3 separate regions of the Homo sapiens genome follow, and all the other regions are linked to region 3. Evidence: promoter capture Hi-C in human tissues and cell types (Jung and others, 2019). All regions are on one chromosome and are shown on one strand. Each heading gives the region's core, a stretch centred on a gene start or on the middle of the fragment in contact. The rest is flanking DNA. Distances are from core to core; before and after follow the strand shown.

Evidence for each region. The method cuts DNA at HindIII sites, captures the fragments that hold promoters and counts their contacts. A contact is called where the count stands out against the background at its distance.
Region 1: a fragment that was not itself captured here is called in contact with the fragment with the promoter of MGLL in region 3 in 2 of the 25 tissues and cell types used here (dorsolateral prefrontal cortex and spleen).
Region 2: a fragment that was not itself captured here is called in contact with the fragment with the promoter of MGLL in region 3 in 1 of the 25 tissues and cell types used here (heart right ventricle).

The regions. Positions count from the first base shown.
Region 1 is chr3:127,779,824-127,783,024 of GRCh38, reverse strand. MGLL (monoglyceride lipase) reads left to right here. Exons shown (of 8, transcript NM_007283.7): 3 at 1,130-1,236. Among named protein-coding and RNA genes, the nearest start is that of MGLL, 41 kb to the left of the region's middle. The HindIII fragment of the contact is 3,961 bases long and covers 1-3,201 here.
Region 2 is chr3:127,881,657-127,885,090 of GRCh38, reverse strand. All of the region lies in intron 3 of LOC107986129 (a long non-coding RNA gene), which reads left to right. Among named protein-coding and RNA genes, the nearest start is that of KBTBD12, 32 kb to the left of the region's middle. The HindIII fragment of the contact is 5,061 bases long and covers 1-3,434 here.
Region 3 is chr3:127,820,412-127,823,849 of GRCh38, reverse strand. MGLL (monoglyceride lipase) reads left to right here and starts at 1,335. Exons shown (of 8, transcript NM_007283.7): 1 at 1,335-1,541; 2 at 2,012-2,156. The coding sequence starts at 1,532. RefSeq lists a silencer at 374-893. The HindIII fragment of the contact is 31,525 bases long and covers 1-3,438 here.

The DNA of each region.
Region 1 (3,201 bases), core at 700-3,199, 41 kb after region 3:
TTTTGTACTTTTTATAGTGACGGAGTTTCACCATGTTGGCCAAGCTGGTCTCAAGTGATCTGCCCGCCTTGGCCTCCGAAAGTGCTGGGATTATAGGTGTGAGCCACCTTGCCTGGCCCAACTCACTTAACTTCTATGCATTTCACTCTCATCTGTAAAGAAGATAAATCATCTGATGACTGGAGAGTTAGAAATCTTGCATGTGGAGTTGCAGAGGAACGGGTGCATAGTAAATGCTCAGGAAGGTGGCAGCTTGTTCTCCTCCTCCTCTTTCCCCTCATCACCATCAGCAGCAGTAGAAGTTGGTGGGTATCGCTCATGGCATTTACTCCGTGCCTGAAGGAGACTCTAGCTCTCCGTAGGTCTTCTGCTAAGAATATAGGTCTTGAAAATTGGATAGTTTGGAATCTAAATGCTGCCACATTCGCCCCCGAGGGAGGAAGCAGGCCCTGGTGGAGGACCTGCCTGCCCCGCGCCAGCACTCTGCCTGGGCCATTGGCATCGATTAGCTCCCATGAGCCTCACAAGCACCCACAGGGCGATGCTCTTCTTACCATGTTACAGGCGAAGAAATGAACCTTCATGGGACTGGAGCTCTGCCTGAGAGCTCACAGGAAGAGCAGGGATTTGGGCTCCATTCTGCGTGACTCTGAAGCCCCGCATTTTAACAGCAAACTCCTCTTATTTGACAATGCCTGGAGCCCATGGTGTGGCTCCTGGTGTTGCTGAGGTTTTGTAAGCTCTGGTACTGCTGCAGCACAGTGGCAGCCATCTGGGCGTTTCTTTTCTTTTCTATTTTTTTGGAGACAGAGTCTCGCTCTGTCACCCAGGCTGGAGTACAGTGGCGCCATCTCAGCTCACTGTCATCTCTGCCTCCTGGGTTCAAGCAATTCTCCTGCCTCAGCCTGCCGAGTAGCTGGGATGACAGGCGCATGCCACCACTCCCGGCTAATTTTTTTGTATTTCAGTAGAGGTGGGGTTTCACTATGTTGGTCAGGCTGGTCTCAAACTCCTGAGCTCAGGCAATCCGCCCGCCCCGGCCTCCCAAAGTGCTGGAATTGTAGGCATGAGCCACCGCGCCCAGCCCCGTGTGGGCTTTCCTAACCAGGCTCCCTTCTTGTCTCTGCAGGGCCCTCATCTTTGTGTCCCATGGAGCCGGAGAGCACAGTGGCCGCTATGAAGAGCTGGCTCGGATGCTGATGGGGCTGGACCTGCTGGTGTTCGCCCACGACCATGGTGAGTGTCCCAGGGTGCCGTCAGAGCTGGCTGGGCCCTGACAATTTGGAGATCTCCCTCTCTAGTCCATCTCACTGCCAGCATCCTTCTCAATTCTTCTATTCCCCACGGATGTTTCAAAGTAAAAAAATGTAGTTATGCAAACAAACAAAAAAAATGTCTGACGAGCAGATTCTGTAGTCTGAGACTGAATGCAGGCTGATTAGAAACCTCAACTGGAAAAACAAAGTCGGATATGTTCATCTCAGAACTTGCCTGAGGCTAAGGAATTCTTTCCTGCATTTATAAAGTGCTTTCTCTCAAAATGGGCCCTGGTTTTTCTCCAAGTGCCCTCAAATGGGCATTGTGTAGTCAGTTCAAGTACAGTGTAAACCCTGGTTTAACCACACGAGGTTTACCAAGCATTTCAGACCAGGAGAATAGTAGAAGCCTCAACAGGCCATATTGTTCACAAGAAAACCCAACACACACACAAATACAAGGACACACAGCTACCCATGCATATAGTCATACACACATTTGCACACATACACATATACATACACATGCACACACATACACACCTGTACCTATACACATACACGTAAAACACACATACACACATACATACACATGTGCACCTACACATTTACACACATATACACACATTCACACATACATATAGACATATACATGCATACATAAACATACCATCCATACACAATCACACACACACAACCCCAGGCCAGGTCTTTGATTCTTTGTTCTGTAGCAAAATCCACAACCATCAAAATCCAATGTTCATTGTCTGAGTCGGTATGTAGTTTTGTAATCATGTTTGCAACATTCTCTATGGCTAGGAAGTCTCCCAATTTAGTTCTTTGCCTAACACTTTTTAAAATTAAGACTTCTCTGTGACTGAACACGGTGATTTCCCCACAGCTTCAATGTAAAATTCTATCATTGTGGCCCAGATCCAGAAATGTTGCTTCCATTTTATCTGATTTGAAAATGGATAATAATTAAGTGATGTCTCTGAAAAGAGGGACAGGGGAGCAATGACAGAGGCCTGGAAGTCCTTGTAAATGCGGGAAAGCCTTATCTGTACGGAGAAGCTGCACAGGAGGTGAAAAGCTTGCTGGGACATTCTGTAGGTAAAGAGCTGCAAATGTGATTTGCCAGGGGCTCTTATTCAGCTGGATATACACAAGCGTCCTCATAACTGACAGTATTGACTAATTCTTTCTTATCATAGTTGTGACGTTCTTTAGTGCTTTGCGAACTGTCCCAGTAATATTTGTGAGACTGTTTGAGAAATAATATTTGAGGATCATCTCCGAGGCTTTTAGTATGGGGACTGTGTCATTATTAACTTTGGCACTTCTTACATGTAAAAGCCTCAGATAGGAATTTTTTTTTCCTATTGCATTTGCATCCTTTAAAATTTGTTACACTCATCATCGTTATGTTCTAGAGACATTGTGAAGGAAAAGGATATTTGTACTATGCAGCTAGAGTCCCAAGAATCTATTTTGTATCTTAGCACCAACCACCTTCTTATCGGATAAAACTTGGCCAAATCTGTGGGATTAAGTAAATGTTGTTCCTTGTTTATTTTGTCTGGCTGTGGCACTTTGAGAAACAATTTTAAAAGCCTCCTTTTTTAGAATAAAGGGAGAAAAGAAACAGCCCACCTTTTGATGTTTCCAGAATAACATCTAGAGTTGAGGCAGAGCTCTCTGTGACATTCTAAATATAGTGCGAAAATGGCTGTTGGTGTTCACCTGTTTCAAGCTCTTTGAATGACTCATGGAAATCTCTCTGGCAAGTGCCTAAGGGAAGTGTTTAATTCAGGAAATGAACCCAGTTGACTGTGCGTGTGTGACTTTTGCTGTGGCTTGCTTAGTAGAAGGAAGCCAAGTAAGTGGGCTGCCATTTTGGGGATCTTGTGCAGGCTGGCGATGCAGGTACTGGTGGCTAGTGATC
Region 2 (3,434 bases), core at 837-3,336, 60 kb before region 3:
TGCAGTGAGCTGAGATCATACCACTGCACTCCAGTCTGAGCAACAGAGTGAGACCCTGTCTCAATAAATAAATAAATAAGTAAAATCTATATGTTCATTTAGAGAACAGCCATGGCAACGCTAGCCTGTGCCAGGGTCCATATAGGGACATCCAAATTGAAATGCAGTCATTTATGAGTTAATTCATCAAGTTACTAGCCTCAGAGCATCCGGTTTAAAACAATTTAAAAGGTTAGGCTTCACAATAAGAGTATAGTCAGGATGCCGAGTAATGCATTTGCTGTTTTCTGTGCTCTAAACATCACCCTTACCATGGAAAAAATATTTCTTACCATTCTTCCATTGCAATCCTTGGCACTTAGCTAAAAGAACAGAAGTATCTGAAGCAGATACATTAAGTTTTCAGAGAATTACATTCTATTGGGGAGGGGAAGGAGGATAAAATAATAAAATTCTGAGGAATTTGGTTTCAAATAAAGAAACCGAGGCCCTGGTTGTCTAAATAGCGTTGCACAGCTAGGTAGAAGGATGACTGAGATTAGAACAAAGTTTACTGCTTTCCAGGAAGAAAAATGTTCAGTTTCTTCTAGCTCTGCCATCTGAATATTCGTTAGACTTAGAACCACGCCTAATTTAGGATAAATGTTATCTTTCATATGATACATTTTATATGTGTTAATCTATCTATGAAGTGTTGTCAACATATTTATAATTTGCTGGGCCTTTAAGAGGTATCTTCTGGAAGCCTCATACCCTTGCATTTTATAATCTTTAAGATGGTTAGTTCTTCCATGACATCACATTAATACATTAGCAGATGCTCTTTCATTGGTTCTCTCTCATGGCCACTGGTCCCTTTTCCACTATTGCAGCTGTTTTGCTGACCTTATTTTCTCACTGGGAATATGCCCAGTCAGCTGTGGAAAACAAAACCCAAGAAACACAAAATTTAACAGTTGCATACATTTATTTAAAAATAACAATGAATGCAGGGCTTCTTATGTTAAAAATCATCTATACACATGTTTCAAAGCCAAAGTGCACCAAATTTCCAAAATAAAGCTTTTGGAAACATTAGCGGGCGTGAGTGGACTTGGTAAGCTGATGGTCCCCAAGCCAGATGTGAAGATAAAATGCTGTGGCGAGACGCAGCAGTGTTTTCCATGTTAAACACATTTTCAAAACTAGTAAACATTGTGACTTGATAAGACCTCGAATCAATAAAGGGACTCAGGGTAGAATCTAAGCATGTTCTACAAATGGAAGTCTGTTAAGATGAACTCTTAAAGACTTGGGTTATATACAGGTAGTCAAAAATATTTTAAAGTGGCTGGGCACAGTGGCTCACGCCTGAAATCTCAGCATTTTGGAAGGCTGACGTGGGTGGATCATTTGAGGTCAGGAGTTTGAGACCAGCCAGGTCAACATGGTGAAACCCCACCTCTACTAAAAATACAAAAATTAGCCAGGTGTGGTGGCATGCGCCTGTGATCCCAGCTACTCAGGGGACTGAGGCAGGAGAATCGCTTGAACCCGGGAGGTGGAGGTTGCAGTGAACCTCCACCACTGCACTCCAGCCTGGACAACAGAGTGAGACTCTGTCTCAAAAAAAATATATATATATATAATGTACATATATGTGTATATGTGTATATATGTGTATGTGTGTGTGTATGTATATATATATATATATATATATATATATTAAAGCATCTGGAGAGTGCCCAGTTTTGCCATAATGGATTGTTAATATTAATTGTCTTCGTGTTTCTTTCCATTTCATAGATTATTTGGGATAAACCTTGAATCCTATTCTTGGCAGCTATAGCAAGTGCCCAGAATATTCCTGGGATCCTCCTGACTGCCCACCTGGAGCATGCCTTCTTATTTTTATTTTTAACCTTAGCTGGATTGTGGGGGAGAGGTGTGGGGCAGATATCATTCATTACCATTTCAAATGCAAGAGACTAATATATGTAAAAAAGCTGTCTGTTTTGAGTTGTCATTGCTATTCCTCCATTAGGGCATATTCTCAAGATCTTCTGTCTTTTTAAAATGCAATACAAGCCAACAGCTATTCAGGGGTTTCTAATTTCTCATGTATTTGGTCTGTAATAGAATATATTAGTATATTTAAAAGCCATTGTCCTTTTTTATTATATAATCTGTATTTTTGAGATCCTTTGAGCTTTTTTCTTGAATTGTGCTTTCCTTCCAATAATGGCAATTTTGTAACTCCTGTGTCTAAGGAAGGGTTCAGAATAAGAACACGGTAAATGAATAGAATGTCAACTTGAATGTGACAGGCTGTAAGACCATGGCTGATGGGAAAGAGGAGGAAACAGAGGCCTGTGGTGGGGATCAACTCAGCTACAGGGTAGGCTCAGAGGGAGACAGGCAGTAATTGAGTTTTTAATGTTCCATTGCATTAGGTAATTTTTTTTTTTTTTTTTTTTTTTTTTTTTTTGAGACGGAGTCTCGCTCTGTCGCCCAGGCCGGACTGCGGACTGCAGTGGTGCAATCTCGGCTCACTGCAAGCTCCGCTTCCCGGGTTCACGCCATTCTCCTGCCTCAGCCTCCCCAGTAGCTGGGACTACAGGCGTCCGCCACCGCGCCCGGCTAATTTTTTGTATTTTTAGTAGAGACGGGGTTTCACCTTGTTAGCCAGGATGGTCTCGATCTCCTGACCTCATGATCCACCCGCCTCGGCCTCCCAAAGTGCTGGGATTACAGGCGTGAGCCACCGCACCCAGCCTGCATTAGGTAATTTTGAATCATCCTCTTGTTTGTGCAGATAGTAACTTACTCAAAGACTTCCAGTCCGGTTGTGATGGAGTAGCATTAGACTTACCATTCTATCATGAAGACTATAACAAATGCACAAAACATGTGAAACAATGGTTTTCAGGCCTTGGACAGTGGCTTAAAGCCTTGAGCTGCCTTGAGCCAAGGGAGGTACTTGATATTTATCCTGGCTTTCTGCTTGAAGTTGGTTTCTAAACCACAGTGGGGGATAATTTAGTCAAGCAAAGAGAGCAGCAGGGAAGGGAAGCTGGGCAGGGAATCTGGAAACATTGCTTGTGGCTTCTGTGACAGTGGCAATTTGTGTGTCAGGGTACCAGATGAGAGACAATTCCTTAACTTTGTATAAGGCCTCCCTTAAGGTCCTTGGCTAAATCTTAAACTGAACATGTCCGGGGCAAGACACTATGATGCCTAATAGAGAACAGCTCCTAGGAACAGAGAGTTGATCAGAGATTTCAATGATAACTCATCATTGAAGAATTTCAGCCAGTCAAGCCATAGACCTTGGTGGGCATCTCTGGCATTTAATTAAAACCCCAGAAAGGTCATTTCATTAAGAGTAAGAACCATGCTATAGAAGTAAGGGCTGTGCCTGATGACTAAGGGAAACATTGAAATAGACATGTCGA
Region 3 (3,438 bases), core at 86-2,585:
AGCATTGTATGTGTCTGACTGCAATGAAGTGTGAGTGTGTCTGTGTGCGACTGTGTGTGTATGATGTGAGTGTGTCTGTGTCTATGTGGGGGCCAGGTGTATAGTCTGCATATGTCTGTGCACCTCTGTGTCTCTGTGGGTTGTCTGTGCCTATGTCTCGGCTTGTGTGTGTGCATGCATGTGTGGTCTGTGTGTGTCTGTATGCATGTGGTATCTCTGGGATGTGTGTCTGTATGTCCCTGCGTGCAGTGTAGTGACTTTGGGAGTGCACATGTGTACACGTGTGGTGAGTGTGCGGCCCTGCGCGAGTTGTCTGTGTACGTGTGGTGCCTGTGGGTCTGTGTGCGCGCGTGTGCCCGTGGGTGTGGTGTGTCCTCCCGCGCTGAGGCTCCCATGAACCCAGCTCAGTTCAGGCCTCCCTGACAGTCCTCGGGCGGCCACCCCGGGGCGCGGCTGTCCACGAGGCGCGGAGGAGAGGAGTGCGTGGCTGGGTCGGCGGGCGGCGCCCCCGCTCCTCCCCGCGGGCCGGGCACACGTGGGCCCCGGGCGCCGCCTCCCCGCGCCGCCCGCCGCCCGCCGGGTCCCGCGCGTCCCCACCCACCTCGGGCCGCCCCCGCCGCCGAGCCGGCCCAGGGATAAAGTGGCGGCGCAGACGCCGCACCCTGTCGCCGCGAAGCCGGTCGCGCGCAGCTCGTCCCGGCCCTGGCCCGCCGCAAACGAGGATCCGCTGCGCTCGGGGAACGCGACAGCGGCGCTCGTGGCCCCGGTAACTGCCTCCCGGCCCCTGCCCCAGCCCGCCAGTGCCGCCGTCAGGGGTGGGGAGCAGCACTGGGGTCCCGGACACGCCCGGCGTGGGCTCCCGCTACCCATGTGTGCGTGTGTGTGTGTGCACGGTGTGTGTGCGCGCGTGTCCGAGTGTGCGCGCGTGTGCGCGCGCGCGCGCCCTCCCTGCTCCTTCGCACCAGCCCCCAAACCAACTTGTCCCCATCAACTCCATCTTTCTAGTCCCCACCTTCCCCGGTGCAGACACCCGGCGAAGCCCACCCGGTTTTCCCAGCGGCATTTCCGATGACAGCTTCGGGGCTACGTGTCCTGTGCTGTCGGAGACGCACAGGAAGCAAAGTTTGTGAGAAGCCTTGGGGGCGACTTTGCCTTGGGCACCCGCATTTGTGCGTCTGCGAGGTGCCTCGGTGTGCGCGGAGCTAGTTTCCCAGTTTCCCGGGCCCCTCCCTTCTCCGAGCCCCTCTAGCGATTTGTTTAGGAAAAGTGATGACATGAACTAGTAGTGGAGAATCGCAGCGCCGCTCCCCGCCCTGGGGAGGGAGGGGAGCCCCGGAGAGCCTGCCGGTGGGAGCTGGAAGCAGGCTCCCGGCTGAGCGCCCCAGCCCGAAAGGCAGGGTCTGGGTGCGGGAAGAGGGCTCGGAGCTGCCTTCCTGCTGCCTTGGGGCCGCCCAGATGAGGGAACAGCCCGATTTGCCTGGTTCTGATTCTCCAGGCTGTCGTGGTTGTGGAATGCAAACGCCAGCACATAATGGAAACAGGTTTGTCATGTATCCTTGGAATTTCAGATGGGAGGAATAATCTGAGTATCATCCACCTCATTATTGTGCCCACTTGAAACTGTTCCTTGGAGATTTTAAGATAGATGGGTCTTCTTGCAGCTGGGTCTTTGTACCCATAGAGCTGACTATAATTTCCACTTGATTACAGCTAAAATAGTCTTTAAGATGAAGTTTCCTGAAATGATTTAAAATAAACACAGATGGGAAGGGGGAAAAACTGTAATGAGGCACTTAAAAAATAAAGTGAGCATTTTCTTAAGAACAAATGGGATTTTTCAGTCTTGGAGAGGTTTGCAAGAAATGTATGTATGTTTTAAACCTTTGAAACAGAGGGGTTTTTTAAACTGCTTTTAAAAAAATGTTACTGACTCTGAACTAGACTTTTCTCTCCTATCCATACATGTTCTTGAGATATTTCTGACTTTGGAATATGTCACTTTTCCTTCTAGGACCTGAAGACCCTTCCAGCATGCCAGAGGAAAGTTCCCCCAGGCGGACCCCGCAGAGCATTCCCTACCAGGACCTCCCTCACCTGGTCAATGCAGACGGACAGTACCTCTTCTGCAGGTACTGGAAACCCACAGGCACACCCAAGTAAGTCTTCCCCAGAAAGTCACCCCAGGTGACAGGGGAGCATGGCCCCTGCTTCTCCTCTGGTCGTTATCATGTGCCATCTGGGGCGGGGCCGCTTTCTCTATGACCTACTTCCCCTGCCGTTTTAATGTTAGGCTGAGCAATGTTAACAAAGCTAAAATGTATACTTTATAATTTTTAAATTTAAGAAGCAGGAATTCTTTTTTCATTATAACAACTCAGATATGGATCCTACCGTATGGCAATTTTCAAAAATTCCACATGACTTTATTTTTTGTACTGGAGTTGATTTCCGGTTGTACAGGCATTCATTTAAAATCAAACCCGACAATTAAGGAAAATCCCCTAGATGGATGAGAAACCCGAAGTAATACATATATCTTCACCTTTGCTCACTTTTCCTGCTTGTTTCTGAGCTTCTGAAGATGGCATACATGTGTCACCAGGAAGAAAGGGGCCTGGGTATTTCCTTCTGATTCCTTGCCAGCTCAATTACTTTGTACATTTTCCATCAAGGATTTGTCTTGCTATTAGAAGCAAACATTGGGACTATACACAAGACAGCTGGTCTCCTGCTGCTGCTCCCTCCTCTTGGATGAAGCAGGAAAACCCTGCTTGTTTGTGTTATTTGGAAAAAGAATTTATTTGTGGTAACCAATTGGCCTGGTGACAAGAACATTTCCTGTTCCAGGGACATTTTACCTGTTTTGTAGGCCTCTTGTCTCCTAGGGATCATTGTGTGGTTGGATTATGTCTCTCTTTGTGCTCCAGTAATCACCCAACCCTCACACAGGTGTAAAATTTCTTCTCTGTCTTCATCAAGGTATCTATGATCCAGGGAGCTGCACGTTAAAAACACAGAGATATGGACTTTTAAAACCCGGCATAGAGTCATAGCTTCAGGGCAGCTACACAGACTGGCTATGGTTTCTCTCTAGTGTTTTCAAGTGGGTAACGTGCTGAGAAGAGTTCCTACCAGTTCTGGTAATACATTTCTTAAAGAATGTGTCTGTACGTGCATACGCATTAGAGGAAGTGGGGGGGTTGTTGAGCATTATGATGCTAATTAATCATTAATTCTCCACTCTGACTTAACTGGCTGTAGAATTGCTCAATCTTGGATTAATTTCTAACAGATTAGTGGTTTGTGGTAATTTGATCAATATACAGAAAGAAGACAAATAATTGAAAATAGAAGTTTTTAATGTCTGAGTCTCAGACTTGGGGGGCTTTGTTGGTTAAGTAGTGAGGTTGTCCTAGTTCGAAGTCAACAAAAATAAAG